Regions from separate parts of the Homo sapiens genome. Here region 1 is linked to region 2. The links are contacts of gene promoters, found by promoter capture Hi-C in human tissues and cell types (Jung and others, 2019). All regions are on one chromosome and are shown on one strand. Each heading gives the region's core, a stretch centred on a gene start or on the middle of the fragment in contact. The rest is flanking DNA. Distances are from core to core; before and after follow the strand shown. Region 1 overlaps ROR1 (receptor tyrosine kinase like orphan receptor 1). Region 2 holds the start of ROR1 (receptor tyrosine kinase like orphan receptor 1).

What was found. The method cuts DNA at HindIII sites, captures the fragments that hold promoters and counts their contacts. A contact is called where the count stands out against the background at its distance.
Region 1: a contact is called between a fragment that was not itself captured here and the fragment with the promoter of ROR1 in region 2, in 1 of the 25 tissues and cell types used here (thymus).

The regions. Positions count from the first base shown.
Region 1 is chr1:63,976,257-63,979,056 of GRCh38, reverse strand. All of the region lies in intron 1 of ROR1 (receptor tyrosine kinase like orphan receptor 1), which reads right to left. Among named protein-coding and RNA genes, the nearest start is that of ROR1-AS1, 130 kb to the left of the region's middle. The HindIII fragment of the contact is 8,168 bases long and covers 1-2,800 here.
Region 2 is chr1:63,772,529-63,775,334 of GRCh38, reverse strand. ROR1 (receptor tyrosine kinase like orphan receptor 1) reads right to left here and starts at 1,318. Exons shown (of 9, transcript NM_005012.4): 1 at 827-1,318. The coding sequence starts at 917. RefSeq lists an enhancer at 1-257 and silencers at 123-417, 1,202-1,251. The HindIII fragment of the contact is 10,974 bases long and covers 1-2,806 here.

The DNA of each region.
Region 1 (2,800 bases), core at 116-2,615, 200 kb before region 2:
CTAATCAGTTAAAGGCCTGAATAGAACAAAAGGCTGACCTCCCCAGCGCAAGAGGGAATTACTCCAGCAGATGGCCTTCAGACTTGAACTACAACATTCACTCTTTCCCAGGTCTTCGGCCTGACAGCCTTTGGACTTGAAACTACAGCATCGGCCCTTTCCTGGTCTCCAACCTGCCAGCGCACCCCACAGACTTCAGATTTTCCAGGCTCCATAAGTGCATGAGCCAATTCCTGGTAATAAATCTCTTTATATATATTGGTTCTGTTTCTCTGGAGAACCTTGACTAATACAGATGTGTGTTCAGATTGTCTCCAATTCCCAGCTATCACCAACAATGCTGTGATGAACATGCTTATACATGTTCTCTTATAGAACCATATGAGGATTTCTTTGATTTATATAACCAGAAGTGAAATTTCTGGATCATAGAAGGATATAGCTACTTTTAATTTTACAAAGCATAACGCTATAACAAAACTACAACATGTTACAATTATTTACAAAGTGTTTACCATGTGCTGCCCACTATATTTGGGAATTGCAGACAGAATAATCTACAAAATAAATGTGATCCCAGCCCATACTGAATTTTCAGCAGAAAAGAACATAAATGATCTGTCACACAGGAAGTGTTCAATAAAAGTATAATTATTGTCAAAACCAAAATTATCCACACCACACAGCTTACTGAATACATTAATATGACTACCTTAATGACCATGACTTTACTCTTACAGAAAATTATTGTCTAGGAAGATAAAAGTTGTAAACAATCTCCTGAAACAAATCATTTAATAAACATCAAACTGATAACTTTTCCATAGATAACATGAATTTCCCGTTTACTTTCCTCTTCTCCTTCCCGGATGCAGAAATAAAAGAGGTCATTTGAGATTAAATCAAAATTCCTGGGTTCTAATCTTAGTTGGGCTACTAACCAGATAACCTCTAGTGTGCACCCGCCATGGATGGACAAATAACCTCCAAGGCCTCAGTAGTCTCATGGATAAAAGGAGGGGCCTGTTGTTGATGGTCCCTAAGGCACTCCCAACACTAAATAGTACGAAAATCTGTGCAGACTATCGTGATCAACAAAATTGGCAGTTTCTTAGGAGGTTGAACTTAAGTGCTCTTATAAAGATCTAAGATATGGAATAGAAGATACAAATATTTTCCTTCTACAAAAAAGGTAAAACATTTTGGTATAGATGTGCATGCCACCACTATTCAGCCTGAGGGGATGATGTGGATCATACTAAGTCAAATTGTGTCTCTCTGGCTCTATGCATTTCCTGAAGTAACATCAGAATTTTGATTCTTAAAGTTGGCCACTTTTCTCCCTCTGAAAAGTGAAACAGGAACAAGCAAGGCACAATCACATGGTGATGACGAGGCACCACAGAGGAAGATGCTTAAGTATGCCATAGCATTTGCCATGTGCCTGGCACTGTTCTAAGCTGCATGAACTTCTCTGATTTTTAGAATAATCCTACAAGGTCAGTACTATAATCATTTCCATTTTACTGATGAGGAAATTCAGTGCAGACAGGTAATTTTCCAGAGCTGCTGAGTGACAGCCAACTCACTACAGGTTGAGCATCCCTAACCCAAAAATCCAAAATCCAAAATGCTCCAAAACCCAAAACTTTTGGAGCGCCAACATGAAACCACAGGTGAAAAATTCCACACCCGACTTCATGTGATAGGTCACAGTCAAAATGCAGTCAAAATTTTGTTTCAGGCACAAAATTACTAAAAAATATTGTATAAATATTCAAGCTATGTGTGTAAGGTGTTGATATGGTTTGCCTGTGTCCTCACCCAAATCTCATCTTGAACTGTAGTTCCCATAATTCCCCATGTGTCATGGGAGGGACCCAATGGGAGGTAAATGAATCATGGGGGGCAATTACCTCCATGCTGTTCTCGTGATAGTGAGTGAGTTCCCATGAGATCTGATGGTTTTATAAGGGGCTTTCCCCCCACTTCACTCTCATTCTTCTCCTTGCTGCCATTATGTGAAGAAGAACATGTTTGCTTTCCCTTCTGCCATGATTCTAAGTTTCCTGAGGCTTCCCCAGATATGCGGAACTGTGAGTCAATTAAATCTCTTTTCTTTATAAATTACCCAGTCTGGGGTATGTCTTTATTAGCAGTGTGAGAATGGACTAATATAGGTGTATATGAAACATAATGAATTTTGTGTTTAGACCCATGTCCTGTGTCCTAGATATCTCACCATATATATGCAAATATTCCAAAATCCAAAAAATTCTGAACTCCAAAACACTTCTGGCCCAAGATTTTTGGATAAGGGATACTCAACCTGTAGTTTCATTTTCCTATATCCATTTGAAGGTGCTAATGAGCAATATGACCAAGTGACTGACAAAAGGAGGAAGAAAAAAGATGACACCGACAAACCAGGGATCTAGATTCTCCTTATGCTAGAAATTTCTCCAAAATGGTGGAAAGTTGGTTATGGTTTTATAGTACATAACAGTGTATATCTAGTTAATGAATGATGTTGACACTGGACTAGAAAGATGTGGACCACATTAGGTCAAATTATGTTTCTCTGGCATTACCTGGAGCAATATTGGAATTTTGATTCCTAAAGTTGGCCAATTTTCTCCCTCTGAGCATCAACAGTTTTCTGAAATCACCACTTTCATGCTTAAACATATAGAGAGATGGCTGTGGGGTAGCAGAAAGCAGAGTGCAAAAAGCATTATGAGATTTGCATTCAAGCCTAAATGCAATCCTTTCCTGGCTGTGCTTCCTCAGGTCGGCCTTT
Region 2 (2,806 bases), core at 69-2,568:
GACCCCAGCTTCCCGCAGCGAACTAAGACGCTCCGGCTTGCGGTGAAGTCTTTCTCTAACTGTTGCGATTGTCTTTAGAGATTACCAAAATCAAATATGCATTAGATGGCTTTTCCCCCTCTTGTTTGTAACACGCACACACACACGCGCGCGCGCGCGCGTGCACACCCAAAGCACTTTGGAGCCGCAGGCCGCCTCTGACAGCACATTTTGCACAAAGTGGCAGCGGCTGCAGCGGCGCACAAGTTTTGGCCTCTATGATGACTCTCGGGAGGGCCGGAGGGCCGGGGGCGGTGGCGATGCGAGGCCGCCGGAGCCCCAGGAGGACAGGGCTTTTGTTTGCGTCGATCCGCGAGCCGCCTGGGCTCTGGCGAGCACCACTGAAAATCCAAACTCCCTCCTGGACCGCGCCTTCCGGGCCGGCTCGCAACTTGGGGGCAGGATAGACTTGCCTGAACACCGGCTGGGGCGCGCTAGAGGTCCAGGGAGACAAGGGGGGACGCCCTGCACAGAAGTGCCCCGATCACCCCCAGGACCCTCAAACCCCTCCACGCTTCCTGTCAGCGCTGACAATCGCTGCTGCGCACCGAGGAACGAGTCCCTGGGCGCGCCCCGGCCCGCCGCGGGGCTCCGGGGCAAACCCTGGCCTGGCGGGGCTCCGGGGCAAACCCTGGCCTGGCGGCGCCGGCGAGCCCCGTGGCGGGTGGCCGGACGCGCCCCGGAGCCAGCGCGGCGCTTCCTGCGTGTCCCGCGCCCGGCTGGACGGCGGAAGGGTGGCCACGGGTCAGGGGGTCTGGGCGGGCGGGGGCCGGCGGGCGCCTCTTACCTTGGGCAGCAGCCCCGCGTGCGGCCAGCAGCAGCGCGGCCAGCAGCGCCAGGAGCGGCGGGCGCGTCCCGCGGCGGCGCGGCCGGTGCATTCCTCCTCTCGCTGAGGCGGCGGCGGCGGCGGCTCCCAGGCCGCGCGCAGAACATCCACGGGCTCTTCCCGGGCTCCCGGCCGCCTCGTCCCGGCCGCTGGCGCTCGCAGGACGCCGGGGACGTCTGCAAAGCTCTTTGTCCCTCTAACCTGCTCCCTCGCCTCCGCCTGGCCGCCTCTGGATGCCGCGAGCGCGATCCCTTCCCAGCCCTCTGGCTGCAGCCTCGCCTGGGCCGGCGGGTCAGTCCCAGGCTGTCCGGGTCGCACCAGTGGGCGTGAGTCGCCCTGGGTCGGACTCCGAGAACAGCGCACCCTGCGCCCAGGGGCTGCCGTCCCGGGGCTCCCTCGGCGGCGGCGGTGGCGGCTGCTCCAGCTCTCCACGCTCCCTCTCTCGCTCAACTTGTCACTTTCCACCAACTCTCCAGCCCAGCGCCCCAGCCCCGACCAATGGGAGACGCGGCCCAGGCTGGCGACCCAGCGCCCTCTGCTGCAGCCTCTCAACGCCCGCACCCTCCCCGACTTCGCAGAAAGCGGTCGCGGCTCCCGCGTCTCGGGCACGCTCCCTCCCCTCCCCTCCCCCACACTCCTCAAACTCGCCACCGAACCGAGCGCCGGGGACCTTCGAGGCTACTTGACAGAAGGGGAAACCGAGGCTCAGAGAGACTTATCCGGGATCTCAAGCCAGTTCGTGGCTGGACGACAGTAGACCCAGGTTCTAGCAGCCTCAGCTGTGTCACTGTTAGCTGTGTGACTCTGGGTAATGGCACATTTATTGCTATCATACAATTTCCCTTTTGCTTTCTTCTTGGACCCAAGAGTTGAGAGAGTTCTTACACAAGTAATTTATACTTCGCCTTTTTGTCTTTAATTTGTAGTCTCACTGAATTCAATGTCATCTGTACTGCCTCCTGGCAAGATTTATTGAGGATTATCTGTGGTTATTTTTGCCAATGTCCCATGGTTTTTTGAAAGGTGTTTTTGTCTTCCGAATGTGAAGATAGAATACTGTATCGATTTATCTTCTTTGTATTCATTATTTTTTCAGGCCTTCTGAATCTTTGCATGTTTGTTTGTTTGTTTGTTTTTTGTCTAGCTGCTCTGCCATGAGCCAAGGGATCATTAAAGACCTCTACAATGAGTGTGTTTTTGTCCATTTCTCCTGGTTTAACTTTATGGATTTTGTAATTCATAAATACCCATAATGATTTGACTTTCCCTGTAGAGACTGCCTTTGATCATAAAAAGTGGTGAGCGCCTGCTGTTTTCAGGGCTGTGCTCTAGGCTCTGAAGATGCAAGGGTAATAGGACACCTGTCAGTCTTGCTCTGGAGGAACAGGAAGAAGCCCATAGTCTCTCAATAATCACGTGGCCACTTACTAAATACCTCCTGTTTGCCTTGTGTTTTATATGCATTTGCTCACAAATCCTCCATTGACACTAAAAAGAGTCATTAAAAGTATATACTTCTTAGCTGTTTTACATATATTATCCCCATATTACAGTTTTAGAAATTGAAACTCAAAGGGAAAGTAAATGACTTGCCCACAGTCTCACAGACATGGGGTAGCCAAGCCAGCACTCAGGCTGTTTCCACTGAGAGAGTTAAAGCCTGTAACCAGAGCCTGGCACATGATAAGCACTCACTCGGGAGTTGTTGCTGTTGCAGTAGCCTCTAAGAACCCAGCTTTAGGGTTTTAAAATGAACAGTCACTTCATGGAGGGCGAGGACTCTGTCTCAATCATCTAGGTATCTTGCTGGCCTCTAACAGTACCTGGAATGCAATAGGAGCTCAATTAATGAACAAAGGTTAGGTCACCATTTGGAAAATATTAATTTCTCATCATATTTGTTTTATAGGGGTGCATGGAGGAGGGACAAAATTTCATCCA